3 separate regions of the Homo sapiens genome follow, and regions 2 and 3 are each linked to region 1. The links are contacts of gene promoters, found by promoter capture Hi-C in blood cells and fetal thymus (Javierre and others, 2016). All regions are on one chromosome and are shown on one strand. Each heading gives the region's core, a stretch centred on a gene start or on the middle of the fragment in contact. The rest is flanking DNA. Distances are from core to core; before and after follow the strand shown. Region 1 holds the start of SPECC1L-ADORA2A (SPECC1L-ADORA2A readthrough (NMD candidate)). Region 2 overlaps SNRPD3 (small nuclear ribonucleoprotein D3 polypeptide). Region 3 holds the start of MIF (macrophage migration inhibitory factor).

What was found. The method cuts DNA at HindIII sites, captures the fragments that hold promoters and counts their contacts. A CHiCAGO score of 5 or more calls a contact.
Region 2: a fragment that was not itself captured here is called in contact with the fragment with the promoter of SPECC1L-ADORA2A in region 1 in 4 of 17 cell types (monocytes, erythroblasts, naive CD4 T cells and 1 more); the score reaches 6.4 in monocytes.
Region 3: a contact is called between the fragment with the promoter of MIF here and the fragment with the promoter of SPECC1L-ADORA2A in region 1, in 2 of 17 cell types (erythroblasts and neutrophils). The highest score is 5.6, in erythroblasts.

Annotation. Positions count from the first base shown.
Region 1 is chr22:24,269,420-24,274,108 of GRCh38, forward strand. It overlaps SPECC1L-ADORA2A (SPECC1L-ADORA2A readthrough (NMD candidate)), which reads left to right and starts at 1,398. Exons shown (of 20, transcript NR_103546.1): 1 at 1,398-1,564. It overlaps SPECC1L (sperm antigen with calponin homology and coiled-coil domains 1 like), which reads left to right and starts at 1,412. Exons shown (of 17, transcript NM_015330.6): 1 at 1,412-1,564. It also overlaps the pseudogene RPS10P29. RefSeq lists a silencer at 1,201-1,730 and an enhancer at 1,791-1,870. The HindIII fragment of the contact is 24,380 bases long and covers 1-2,475 here.
Region 2 is chr22:24,557,406-24,562,011 of GRCh38, forward strand. SNRPD3 (small nuclear ribonucleoprotein D3 polypeptide) reads left to right here. Exons shown (of 4, transcript NM_004175.5): 2 at 252-395. The coding sequence starts at 270. Among named protein-coding and RNA genes, the nearest start is that of SNRPD3, 3.7 kb to the left of the region's middle. RefSeq lists enhancers at 2,124-2,173, 4,508-4,606. The HindIII fragment of the contact is 200 bases long and covers 1,830-2,029 here.
Region 3 is chr22:23,892,900-23,897,659 of GRCh38, forward strand. MIF (macrophage migration inhibitory factor) reads left to right here and starts at 1,484. Exons shown (of 3, transcript NM_002415.2): 1 at 1,484-1,683; 2 at 1,873-2,045; 3 at 2,141-2,324. The coding sequence starts at 1,576. The coding sequence ends at 2,207. It overlaps MIF-AS1 (MIF antisense RNA 1), which reads right to left. Exons shown (of 3, transcript NR_038911.1): 2 at 2,930-3,211; 3 at 811-2,633. RefSeq lists enhancers at 1,159-1,966, 1,967-2,774. The HindIII fragment of the contact is 28,199 bases long and covers 1-4,760 here.

The DNA.
Region 1 (4,689 bases), core at 148-2,647:
CCTCGGCTTTCTTGTCGGCACCAGGGGGCACAGCACTCCTTCTGTAGGTATCTCTGTCGGCTTCTCCTCTTGTGAGTCTTGCAGGTCGCTCACCCTCCAGACCTTTAGACCGAGGCCTGCCAGTCCCTGGACGGCTGCGGCGTAGGGTGGCAGGCACAATCTCCAGGGGCAGATGAAGGTAATCACGGAGATACTGGATATCCTCATTGGTAAGGTACCAGTAGACATGTCTCCAGGCAAACTGTTCCTTCACGTAGTAGCCTCGGGACTACATGACAGGAAGGTTGGGCACACACATTCTTTTTTTTTTGAGAGGAGTCTCACTCTGTCGCCCAGGCTGGAGTGCAGGGGCGCGATCTCGGCTCACTGCAACCTCCGCCCCCTGGGTTCAAGCAATTCTCCTGCCTTGGCCTCCCGACTAGCTGGGATTACAGGTGTCTGCCACCGCGCCTGGCTAATATTTTTGTATTTTTAGTAGACACGGGTTTCACCATCTTGGCCAGGCTGGTCTTGAACTCCTGACCTCGTGATCCGCCCGCCTCGGCCTCCCAAAGTGCTGGGATTACAGGCCTAAGCCACCGCGCCCGGCCGGGCACATTCTTGTCTGCCAACTCCAGGTGCTTAGGCATGTGGACATCCTTCTTGACCACCGTGACTTCCTCTTTAAAAAGGAGTTCATAAATGGCAATCCGGTTTTTCTTAGGCATCAGCATTCTGGGGAGGAGCAGCCGCTAAGGTGGCAGGGTGGCCCGGATGGGGGCCGATGGAACTCGAACTCCCCCAGAATTTCTTTAATATTTTATATATATATATATATATATATACATATATATATGTATATATATACACATATATATACATATATATATACGTATATATATATGTATATATATACATATATATATACGTATATATATATACGTATATATATATGTATATACATATATATATACATATATGTTGCTCGCTTATTCTTTTTGTCTGTTCCCTTATGTACCGGGAGTGCCAGGAGGACAGGGCTTTGTGTTTTCCTCACTGCTGTCTGGCTCATGCATAGCACAGTCCTTGGCACACGGTAAACACGCTGAGGAGAACTTTTGGGACTAGCGGACTCTGAGCATCATTCCGCTGGGCCCAGTGGGGCCTCTGAAGGGACCCGCCTTGCCCGGCTCCAGCCCAAGACCTGAGGCATGCGCACCGGCTGGCCGGCTACTTTCTTGACCGGCCAAGTGGCAGAGCGGCTGCGCGACCCAGTGCCGAGACGGACGCGAGCCGGAGATGGGGGAAGGGGAGGGGGTGGTGGTGGGGGACGGCGGCGCCTGCGCAGTGAAGGAATGTAGGCGGGGCCTCCACGACGCCTGCGCAGACGGCCGCAGCCCTGCTGGGCGCGAAGGGGCTGGCCAAGGGCGGGGCCCGCGAGGGAGGCCGGGCGGCCCGGCAAGCGGCGCTGCGGGGTAGGCTGCTTTCCTGAGGCCGGACTCAACGGGTCTCGGCTGAGCCACCGGGTGAGCTCACCGCCCAGCCCAAACCAGGAGATTGCGAGGGAGCGATGCGGTGCAGCGCGGTAAGAGCAGCAGCCGGGTTCCCGCAGTGTTCGCTGGCGGGTTGGTTTATCGCCTCAGCGCCGCCCGCGCTGCCGCGCCCGGGCGTCCCCGCAGACCCCGGCAGGCCCAGCGCCTGCGCCGTCTCTGCTCCTGGGCCCCTCCAGTGTGTCCCGCGCCTGCGCCTTTCCCTTCCCGCGCCGTCCTCGTTCTGGGCTTCGGGGCTTCTGGAACAACCCGCAGGCTTCGCCGCCGAGACCCACTGGCCTTCGTCCGTTGGTGTTGGGGTTCAGCTGGTTCTGGGACCCCGCTTGCGGCTTGACTGTGTGCAGACAGGCCGGGTGCGACCCTCGTGCTTGCCTTTCCGCCGCTCCGGGAGAGGCTGGGGCTGCCGCCCCATCGCCCGGGTCCCTTGCCTGGGGCGGGGACAGCGTTGTTCAGTGGCCCCGAGGGCGCAGAGCGGAGGAGCAGGGGCCACAGGCGGCGGACCCCGGGCCTGCTGCCGGTGCTGCTTCTGCTGTGGCCGGCGCCCGAGGCGGACGGAACGTCCTTTTTTCTTGAGACGTGGTTAATTGCATCAGGTTGGATGTGAATAATCCGGTACCTGTCTGAGGAAATTTTGCGTTTCCAGGAATTTGGTAATTGTATTACCTTAAGTAGTTAAGTCTAAGACATCATAGTCGCGGCACGTTGGGCAAGCTGCCCTGGAGATGACGAAAAGAAATCAGTTTCCAGTAGTTTTAGCCCATTTACAGAACACGCAAAAATTCTGTGATCATTCAAATGCGGGGAACCTTGATTTGTTGATATCCTTGATCATTTGTCCAAGTACCAGAAGGGCGAGGAAAAGATTCCCGTGAACAGCCCAGGTGATTTCAGGGAACAGTGTTTTCTTTTGTCAAAAGAGCCTCTTAAGCCATGATAATATTTCCCAAGCTTATAACAGATACAAGCCTTTAAAAAATGGCATTTGCTGTCACCCAGTAGGACACATCTTGAGATGAAATCAGAGCTGTAGGCTTTGTAGACAACAGCAGTCATTTCTGGTGGCTTCAGGGAGTGGAGGGGGACTGCAATTTTGCCAATGTAGGTGATACCAAAGGGACTATAGTAATTTTTTCTTCGTAATTAAAAACCAGGCCAGGCGCGGTGCCTCATGCCTGTAATCCCAGCACTTTGGGAGGCCGGGGCGGGCGGATCACCTGAAGTCAGGAGTTCAAGACCAGCCTGACCAACATGGTGAAATCCTGTCTCTACTAAAAATACAAAAAGCGCGCGCCTGTAATCCCAGCTACTCAGGAGGGTGAGGCAGGAGAATCGCTTGAACCCGGGAGGCGGAGGTTGCAGTGAGCCGAGTTCGCGCCACTGTACCCCAGCCTGGGCTACAGAGCGAGGCTCCGTCTCAAAAAAACAAAAACCAGATATAACAAGGCCGAGCTCCCTGGCTCACGCCTGTAATCACAGTAGTTTGGGAGGCCGAGGCGGGTGGATCACCTGAGGTTAGGAGTTCGATACCAGCCTGGCCAACATGGTGAAACCCCGTCTCTACAAAAAATATAAAAATTAGTCGGGCGTGGTGGCACACGCTTGTGATCCCAGCGGCTCGGGAGGCCGAGACAGGAGAATTGCTTAGGAGGCAGAGGGTGCAGTGAACCGAGGTCTCGCCACTGCACTCCAGCCTGGGCGACAGAGTGAGACTCTGTCTCAAAAAAAAAAAAAAACAGCTATTACAATATACATGTATGTTGTAAAATAACCAAACCAACATAGAAGGGTATATAGTGAAAGGAGAAGTATTGTTGTGGGTAAAATTGTTTCAATAAATGGCTAATCCAGTATTTTTTTCCTCCAAAAAAACACCTTTTCCCCTTTGATTTAGTGTATACCACACAGAGTCGCTTAGCCGATTCAGTGACTTTTTTGATAGCTGGAGAATGCTTCCTAATGGTTGCAGGTGTGTAGGGGTTTTCTTGACATTTTCAGTAAGAAAGTGAATGTTGTGCCATAGGAAAGCTTTATCACAGGTGCACGTTGGTAGCCAACTAAATAACGTGAGTGTCAAGTACAGTATCTAGTGAGTGGAGAATAACTGTAATAATTACAATTACAGTTGTAGTTAAAGTGAAGTTTGTATCAAAATTTCTGTTTCAAAGGTGAACTTTTAGGAGGTGTATCTGCGGTGTTTCTTCCTCAGATGTGATTTCTCTGAAGCAGTGGTTCTCTATAACTGACTTGACACACAGTGCATCTGATATTTCGAATGACTTAAGTGATAGTATCAAAATTACTATCATATACATATTTAAATCACATGACTAACCTGTGTGTGGTATTATGCAAACTGCTCAGCTCAGTAAGGGAACAGAAATAAGAAAAAAAGGACAATATTGGGAGTCTTTTATACAATTCAATTTATTCAATTGAAGGACTATCTTTTCTTTAAAAAAGTTCTGCTTTCTTGGTGTTAAAATAAAGCATCTTTTATGAAATGATGGTGATAGTAAATGGTGATATATGGTAAACGTAAATAGTAAATGCAAGGGTAGTTATTGTGATTTTTAAAAATAAAGAGAGCCGAGAATCTCTTGTTTTCCTGCTGCTGTTAGGGAGTTCAGGAAAAAGTTCCTGGGGCTTTTGCTGTTAAGAAGATTCAAATATAGAGTATTTCTTAAGAGTAAATATGAGTTTATTTTGAGATCATTGGTCACAGTCTACTGAGAAATCCACTGAGAAAGCTGTTAAATTTGCATGGCATTAAAGATGTTCCTATTCTGATCATTGTTAAATAGATCTTTTTTATTAGATATAATTGTTTTTGAGACAGTTTCGCTCTTGTTGCCCAGGCTGGAGTCTAATGGCATGATCTCCGCTCACCGCAACCTACGCCTCCCAGGTTCAAGCGATTCTCCTGCCTCAGCCTCCCAAGTAGGTGGGATTACAGGCATGTGCCACCACCCCTGGCTGATTTTGTATTTTTAGTAGAGACAGGGTTTTTCCATGTTGGTCAGGCTGGTCTGGAACTCCCGACCTCAGGTGATCCGCCTGCCTTGGCCTCCCAAAGTGCTGAGATTACAGGCACTAGCCACCTCACCCAGCCCCAGGAGATTTTTTTGTGTTGTGCCAACAAATAAGCCTAGGCAGGGAAATT
Region 2 (4,606 bases), core at 680-3,179, 290 kb after region 1:
GCTCTCTTTTCATTCCTAGTTTTACTTCTGTCCATCCCATCATTCCTCCTCACCCCACATCTTGCACATATTTGCCAGATAGTTTCCTCCAAACCAGGAGCTGAGCTTTTTTTTTTTTCCTTGGTAGAAAATGCAGCTTTGGTGTTTTTGCTAAGTTTTATGGAGTGCCAGGCCTTAAAGGAAGCATGATGTGTGCCACATGCCTTTTCAGACTCTGAAAGATGAACTGACTGTTGTCTCTCTCATTGTAGAACTCTCTTCCTGCCAAGATGTCTATTGGTGTGCCGATTAAAGTACTGCATGAGGCCGAGGGCCACATTGTGACATGTGAGACGAACACCGGTGAGGTATATCGGGGGAAGCTCATTGAAGCAGAGGACAACATGAACTGCCAGGTATTCTGCTTTGCATGTGAGGCTGTGTGGGAGGAATGGCCCTGTGTCTTGAAGGACAGAAAAGTGTGTGTTGAGGGTCTCTGGAAATTGTTCTCATTCAGCAGTGATTTCCTAAGTGCCTAATGCATACCAGTCAGGTGCTGTTATAGGCTCTGGGGGTGTGGGCATGAACGAGACACATAATCTTGAGGCAGAAAAGCCATTTGGAGGTTTGGAATATTTTACTTTGTCCTTTTTGTTTTTTCCATCCCCAAATATGGGGGTCTATTTGGGAGAAGTGCTACTTCCTTCAGTAGAATCCTTCAGATTCAGGGCCATTATCCATTTGCCTCCACTTGCTTTGCGATTAGCAGAATCTTCTCACCTACTGTATTTGTTTCCCTTTTCTCTTGGAGGAGGAGTCTCATTTGATTATTGCAACTACCTTGTGAGGTAAGCAGGTTTGGTGATAGTCTTGTCATCCATAAAATAGGGAGAATGAGATTAAAGGGCTCATCACTCTGATGATAAATAATGGAGTAGTTTCCTGATATGGTGTCCTTCTCATGGCACAACTTTGCCTTTTGCATAGTCATCTGAATTTTTATAGCATTGTTTTTCAGTTGTATCTTCACACTTTCTTTGTTCTTTAAACCACTGGTTAAGAACTTGGACTTGGGAGTCAGAGAGAGATGTGGGTTTGAATCCTAATTATATGACTTTAGATGTATTAACCACTCAGTTTTCTCATCTGTAAAATGGGGGTGGTATTATGTTGGGTTCTTTGATGTAGATGCCAAGACAGAATTTTGCAAGGTATTTATTGGGGGAAATGACAATAAAGGATAAAAGAGCAAGGAAGCAGTAGTAGGCAGGGAAATTTTCAGTCTATGGTGCTGGTCTGACTGGTGAAATGAGAGGGGAAAGGAAGGAGGATTGAGCAGGAAGAGCCTTAGACTACAGCGTAGTTTTGAGGAAATCTCAGCAAGGCAGCGATTGCTCGTTAGAAGAGTCTAGCATGGGGCAGAAATGGGCGGACTGGCACCCCCGGTGTGTTCAGGCTGGCAACATGGGGAGAGAGTAGCCTCAAGTTGAATGCCATGGTGGACTGCAAAGATGGAGATTGTCGGCTGCCTGCACTCCTCATAGCCTGTTCTCTTTTGAAGGGAGATGTGAGCAGCACACCCTTAAGACTGCCACAGGGGTAATATCCACACCCCCAGGACTTTTACAAAGATCAGATGAGCTGTATGTGTGCCATAGCTGCTCAGTGCCTCACATACTGTGAGTGTTCAACATATGATACCTATTGCTTTTTTCCAGATGAGAAGGTCAGAGAGGTAAAGCACCTTACACCGCGGTCAGGCATCCTGACCATCCATTGGTTTGCAGGGTTCATTTATTTGTGATTTTTCTGTAGCTTTGAGCGTCTGTCATCTTCCTGCGAGGTTGACAAGCTTGGTCAGTTCCCTGAATGCAGAGAAGTAGACCTCTGGTGACTCAGGTTTATTGCATTACTGTCAATAGATCAGTTTATCTATTGAGGGTAGATAAGTTTATCATCTCTCATATATCCAGTCCTCTGGCTTAAGGCATGCTCATCCACTTTAAGGTTCTTTAATTTGGTGAGGAGAATGCAAGACTTGGGTTAGTGAAGCTTAATGGGTTTGTTCAATTAGCTGTATGTATTTGGACAACTTGCTGGGTTTCCAGGGCCTTTGTCATCCCATCCGTAACGTGAAGGTGTCTAACCAGATAACCTTGGTAGCCATTCAGAGATGCAGTCAACATGACACAAAGTGCACAGACCTTGGTGTCCGACAGACCTGGAATCAGCTTGTAGCCTGCCCCCTAGGGTGACTTGGGGCGAGCTTAGCTTTGGACCTCCTTCATCCTCTGGTCCCTCCTCTAAATCAGGGATAAAAATAGCACCTTGGCCTCAGAAGGAACCATGCCTGACCAATGGTGGGGGACAGCCACCTGCCTCCCTGCTTGTATTTGTATGCTAGTGCTACCATAACAAAGTTTCACAGACTGGGCAGCTTAGACAACACAAATTTATTTTCTCATAGTTCTGAAGGCTGGAAGTCTGAGATCAAGGTGTTGGCAAGGCTGGTTTCTTCTGAGGAATGTGAAGGAAGGATCTGTTTCAGGCCTCTCTCCTTGCTTATATATGGCTCTCTTCCTGTGTCTTCACTTGGTCTTCCCTCTGTAGTGTTTCTGTCCAGATTCTTCTTATAAGGATACCATGCATGTAGGATTAGGGCCCACTCTAATGACTTCATCTTAACATAATTATGTTTATAAAGAATTTTTTTTTTTTTTTTTTTGAGATGGAGCCTTGCTCTGTCACCCAGGCTGCAGTCTTGCTCTGTCACCCAGGCTGGAGTGCAGTGGCGCGATCTTGGCTCACTGCAACCTCTGCCTTCCAGGTTCAAGCGATTCTCCTGCCTCAGCCTCCTGAGTAGCTGGGACTACAGGCATCTGCCACCATGCCCAGCTAATTTTTGTATTTTTATATTTTTAGTAGAGACAGGTTTCACCATATTGGCCAGGCTGGTCTCGAACTCCTGACCTTGTGATCTGCTCGCCTCGACCTCCCAAAGTGCTGGGATTACAGATGTGAGCCACCATGCCCAGCTTGCTTGCTTTTTTTTTTTTTTTTTTTTTTTTTTTTTTTTTTTTTTGAGAGTCTCACTCTGTCGCCCAGGCTGGAGTGCAGTGGCATGATCTCAGCTCACTGCAACCTCTGCCTCCTGGGTTCAAGCACTTCTCATGCCTCAGCCTCCTGAGTAGCTGGGACTATGCCCAGCTAGTTTTTCGTATTTTTAGTAGAGATAGGGTTTCCCCATGTTGCCCAGGCTGGTCTCAAACTCCTGAGTTTGCCTCAGCCTCCCAAGTGCTAGGATTACAGGCGTGAGCCACTGCACCTGGCCTTTTTTTTTTTTTTTTTTTTTTTTTTTTTTGAGACAGAATCTTGCTCTGTTGTCCAGGCTGGAGTACAGTGGCACAATCTCAGCTCACTGCAAACCTCCGTCTTCCCGGGTTTAAGCAACTCTCTTGCCTCAGCCTCCTGAGTAGCTGGGGTTATAGGCATGGGCCACCGTACCCCACTAATGTTAATATTTTTTGTATTTTTAATAGAGATGGAGGCTCATCATGTTGCCCAGGCTGGTCTCTAACTCCTGAGCTGAGGCAATCTGCCCACCTTGGCCTCCCAAAGTGCTAGGATTACAGGCATGAGCCACTGCACCCAGCCTTTTTTTTCTTTTCCTTTTTCTTTTCTTTTTTTTTTTTTTTTTTTTTTTTTGAGATTAAGCTTTGGTCTGTTGACCAGGCTGGGGTGCAGTGGTTTGATCATAGCTCATGGGCAGCCTTGGACTTCTGGGCTCAAGAGATCTTTTCACCTCAGTCTTCTAAGTATCCAGGACTACCAGTGTGCCCCACCATACCTGGCTAATTTTTAAATTTTTTTGTAGAGACGGAGTCTTGATATGTTTTTCAGGCCAGTTTCAAACTCCTGGCCACAAGTGATCCTGCTGCCTCAGTCTCTCAAACTCCTGGAATTACAGGCATGAGCCACCACATCTGGCCTGTAAAGATTTTTTGTCTCTAAATATGATCACATTCTGAGGTGCTGGGTATTAGGACTTCAACAATGAATTTTTTTGAGGGATACAATTTAGCCTGTAACAGGATGTAGAGGCCTCACTGGGTCTATCAAAACCTAGGCACATTGAATAAGAGCCAGCAGACTGTGGCGTAGCTAAAGCTGGTGGTGGGTGAACTCTGAGCACAGTTTAGTTTGTTCAGCACATCTCAGGCTGTGAGGCTTGCCTGTCCTTCCCAGATCCAGTCATTCTGCCTTTTGGGAATGAGAACATCCTCTTAGCACTTTTCCTTGCTTGTTCAATAACATTTTCTGTTATAAAAGTGGGGTGGGACAAAATGTGGTGGCTACTCCTATAATCCCAACACTTTGAGAGGCTGAGGCAGGAGGATCACTTGAGCCCAGGGGTTCAAGACCAACCTGGGCAACATGACAAGACTTTGTCTGTAAAAAAAATAAAATAGACGGATGTGGTGGCACATGCCTGTAGTCCCAGCCATTCAGGTGGAGGCTGAGTTGGGACGATTACTTGAGCCCAGGAAGTCAAGGCTGCAGTGAGCTATGGAGTGCCACTGCACTCCAGCCTGGGCGACGGAGTGAGACCTAGTCTCACACACACACA
Region 3 (4,760 bases), core at 234-2,733, 380 kb before region 1:
CTCAGCTTTCATAGGGCACAGGGAGTCGGGGCTAACTCTGCTGCCTGGGGCTGGAAACAGACTCCTCCCTTGAGGAGCAGCAGTCCACCATAGGGAAGTCACAGTGGTCCAGGCCAAAGGGGATGCAGGTAGTGTAGACTAGGCGGTAGTTCAGGGAATGGAGAGAAGTGGGAATAAAGGGATAGTGAAAGGAAGCATATTTTACTGGCAGGTGATGAGGTGTAGGAGGACAAGTCATACATTTGGACTTTACAGAGCAGTGGACACTCAGTCAGCTGCTGTCAGCGCCTGGGACTTAGGGGAGTGCCCCTGGCTGGAGACATGGTATGGAGTGCCATCAGTTAGGGAGCCCTGGGCACAGGTAAGAGAAGGTGTGACACCAGGAGGGAAAGAGTCTGGGGCCCAGCTGCAGGAACCAATACCCATAGGCTATTTGTATAAATGGGCCATGGGGCCTCCCAGCTGGAGGCTGGCTGGTGCCACGAGGGTCCCACAGGCATGGGTGTCCTTCCTATATCACATGGCCTTCACTGAGACTGGTATATGGATTGCACCTATCAGAGACCAAGGACAGGACCTCCCTGGAAATCTCTGAGGACCTGGCCTGTGATCCAGTTGCTGCCTTGTCCTCTTCCTGCTATGTCATGGCTTATCTTCTTTCACCCATTCATTCATTCATTCATTCAGCAGTATTAGTCAATGTCTCTTGTATGCCTGGCACCTGCTAGATGGTCCCCGAGTTTACCATTAGTGGAAAAGACATTTAAGAAATTCACCAAGGGCTCTATGAGAGGCCATACACGGTGGACCTGACTAGGGTGTGGCTTCCCTGAGGAGCTGAAGTTGCCCAGAGGCCCAGAGAAGGGGAGCTGAGCACGTTTGAACCACTGAACCTGCTCTGGACCTCGCCTCCTTCCCTTCGGTGCCTCCCAGCATCCTATCCTCTTTAAAGAGCAGGGGTTCAGGGAAGTTCCCTGGATGGTGATTCGCAGGGGCAGCTCCCCTCTCACCTGCCGCGATGACTACCCCGCCCCATCTCAAACACACAAGCTCACGCATGCGGGACTGGAGCCCTTGAGGACATGTGGCCCAAAGACAGGAGGTACAGGGGCTCAGTGCGTGCAGTGGAATGAACTGGGCTTCATCTCTGGAAGGGTAAGGGGCCATCTTCCGGGTTCACCGCCGCATCCCCACCCCCGGCACAGCGCCTCCTGGCGACTAACATCGGTGACTTAGTGAAAGGACTAAGAAAGACCCGAGGCGAGGCCGGAACAGGCCGATTTCTAGCCGCCAAGTGGAGAACAGGTTGGAGCGGTGCGCCGGGCTTAGCGGCGGTTGCTGGAGGAACGGGCGGAGTCGCCCAGGGTCCTGCCCTGCGGGGGTCGAGCCGAGGCAGGCGGTGACTTCCCCACTCGGGGCGGAGCCGCAGCCTCGCGGGGGCGGGGCCTGGCGCCGGCGGTGGCGTCACAAAAGGCGGGACCACAGTGGTGTCCGAGAAGTCAGGCACGTAGCTCAGCGGCGGCCGCGGCGCGTGCGTCTGTGCCTCTGCGCGGGTCTCCTGGTCCTTCTGCCATCATGCCGATGTTCATCGTAAACACCAACGTGCCCCGCGCCTCCGTGCCGGACGGGTTCCTCTCCGAGCTCACCCAGCAGCTGGCGCAGGCCACCGGCAAGCCCCCCCAGGTTTGCCGGGAGGGGACAGGAAGAGGGGGGTGCCCACCGGACGAGGGGTTCCGCGCTGGGAGCTGGGGAGGCGACTCCTGAACGGAGCTGGGGGGCGGGGCGGGGGGAGGACGGTGGCTCGGGCCCGAAGTGGACGTTCGGGGCCCGACGAGGTCGCTGGGGCGGGCTGACCGCGCCCTTTCCTCGCAGTACATCGCGGTGCACGTGGTCCCGGACCAGCTCATGGCCTTCGGCGGCTCCAGCGAGCCGTGCGCGCTCTGCAGCCTGCACAGCATCGGCAAGATCGGCGGCGCGCAGAACCGCTCCTACAGCAAGCTGCTGTGCGGCCTGCTGGCCGAGCGCCTGCGCATCAGCCCGGACAGGTACGCGGAGTCGCGGAGGGGCGGGGGAGGGGCGGCGGCGCGCGGCCAGGCCCGGGACTGAGCCACCCGCTGAGTCCGGCCTCCTCCCCCCGCAGGGTCTACATCAACTATTACGACATGAACGCGGCCAATGTGGGCTGGAACAACTCCACCTTCGCCTAAGAGCCGCAGGGACCCACGCTGTCTGCGCTGGCTCCACCCGGGAACCCGCCGCACGCTGTGTTCTAGGCCCGCCCACCCCAACCTTCTGGTGGGGAGAAATAAACGGTTTAGAGACTAGGAGTGCCTCGGGGTTCCTTGGCTTGCGGGAGGAATTGGTGCAGAGCCGGGATATTGGGGAGCGAGGTCGGGAACGGTGTTGGGGGCGGGGGTCAGGGCCGGGTTGCTCTCCTCCGAACCTGCTGTTCGGGAGCCCTTTTGTCCAGCCTGTCCCTCCTACGCTCCTAACAGAGGAGCCCCAGTGTCTTTCCATTCTATGGCGTACGAAGGGATGAGGAGAAGTTGGCACTCTGCCCTGGGCTGCAGACTCGGGATCTAAGGCGCTCTGCCCGCCGGAATCCGTTGTACCTAGGGCCACCACGTGGGGTGCTGGAGGTGAGCCGACCACGGAAGAGGGGGAGGAGGAGTTGGAGTTGGGAGGAGTCCGAGGTCTTCTAGGCCTAGACCTTTCTCTCAGCCCCACCTTCCCCAGCCTTCTTGTTGGGCAGAGGGTAGCCAGAGGACAGAAAGATCCCACCCAGAGCCACTCACTGCCATCCACTTTGTTAGGTGACTTCAGGAGAGTTTTCAGGCGGGTGGGTGGGGGAGGTGCAGAGTTCTTGGTCATACCGCCCCGTCCACCCCCGAACCCCACGCCTTGGGTTCTGCTCCCCTCAGACACCCACCAAGCCTCCGCCACAGCAGTTCCCTGAGGAAATTGGGCGTGGGGTTTCCATTGGGACCGTTCGTGTTCTGTGGTGCCACAGACATGTCTGTAAAACCTTCAGTTATGTTTGGGCGCAGTGGCACAAGCCTGTGATCCCGGCACTTTGGGAGGTGGAGGTGAGTGGAGTGTGACTCCTCTGCTTCTCTCAGTCTCCAGCCACATCTCGTCTCCAGTCCCCTGTTCACTCGGTCATCCCGCGCAGTACTGGACAGCGAGCTCTCCTTCCAGAAGAGCAATGGGGCTGGGTGGGGTGAAGATTAGGAAGAGGAAGGAGAATAGAAGCTCCAGGGAGTCTGGAAGGGTGGCACCCATCTTGGGATGGGGCACCCCTTCCATGAAGGTCTCTAAAGCAAGGCCCTCCTCAGCTTACTCCCTGCCAGCCGAGGGCCTCAGTCTCATTGTTAACTCAGTGAGAGGGCGGTGGAGCCCCTCGTCTACCTCCCAGCTGGGGGAGACATGGGGGGCATGGGATGGCTCCAGCTGTAGCGGGAAGGTCCCACTCCTCTCAGCCTGGCTTTCAGGCTTGAGGTTTCCTTCTTGGATCTGAGTACCTGTGGTGTAACAGGCACCCTCCTCGGCCCTGGCCTTTATCACATCCCCTCAGCTCCTGGGTGCCCCCAGCCCCAGCCTCCCAAGGCCTGAGGCTGAGCTTTGCCCAGGACCCCCAGTTCCCCCCACAACAAACTCTTTCTGCCTCGGGCCCCACACCCCACCAAGCCCTGGCTGGCCCCCTGGCTCCCACCCCGCCTCAGCGGTCTTTGCTCTCGGCTGTGTCACAGATAGGGAGAGCAGGGGCGCAGTGCCCCATGAGCATCTAATGCAACTCCCTCATTTCACAGATGAGGACACTGACCCCAGGATCCAGGGCATGGTCATACACTCAATGCCATGCCCCCTGCAAGGGCCCTGTGGCCTCACATGAGCAAGTTAGACTCTGAGGGCCGAGGAGATGGGCAGGGCAGGCTGGGCACCTGCTGTGTGAGGGCAGGAGGGTTGGTGAGAGCTGTCCTCCAAAAGCAGGTGAGTGTCTGAGGTTCTGTGGCCCCCTGGGGGCATCCACAAGGTCATGGGTCCTTGGACTCCAGGAACAAAGGGGGTGTCTGTGGGTCAGGGACCTATCCGCTTGCCCTGCCCAAAGTGTTCCTAAGTCCCCTGGGACTAATAACCGGCCTGCCTGCTGGGGAGGTCAGCTGCTACATCCCACCTTCAAGCCACACCTGCCCCCATTGACCCCCATCCCATGGCCAGCTCCATTTCCTCCAAAGCACAGGCTCCACTGCCCACCAGGTGGTGGGTCTCTTCCTCAAACCCCTGTTTGACTGCCCCAGGACCTGCAGGGTCAGCCTTGGAAATGCATTTCCAAGTAACGCCACAAACTCTGAGGTACAGGACAGACAGGTGTGGGGTCCATCTGCCTGTTCTCCATCACTCTGGTGGTACTATGTCATCTGCTGAGAAAGACCCCCGGCCTACAGGGTGACCCTCACTCTCCTCAGGGCCACTGTTTGCAACAGACAGACAGCCTGGCAGGCCTTGAACCTCATTTTGTAGGTTCAAGGCCTGTCCCCCATCTGTCCACTATAAGCCTCACACACACCATTCTTCTGGGATACCTTCCCTGAGGCCACCTGGTCAACACCCACAGGCCCCTTTGCTTCAGCCCAGGTCCTGTTAGCTGAGGTTTCCATTTCTGGACATAGCTCCACCCAGTTCTGTGATCCGTTGGGCTGGTGGCACCAGGGGCCCCTCGGTACTTGTCCATTCTGGACAGCCCAGCAATGTAGGCTTTT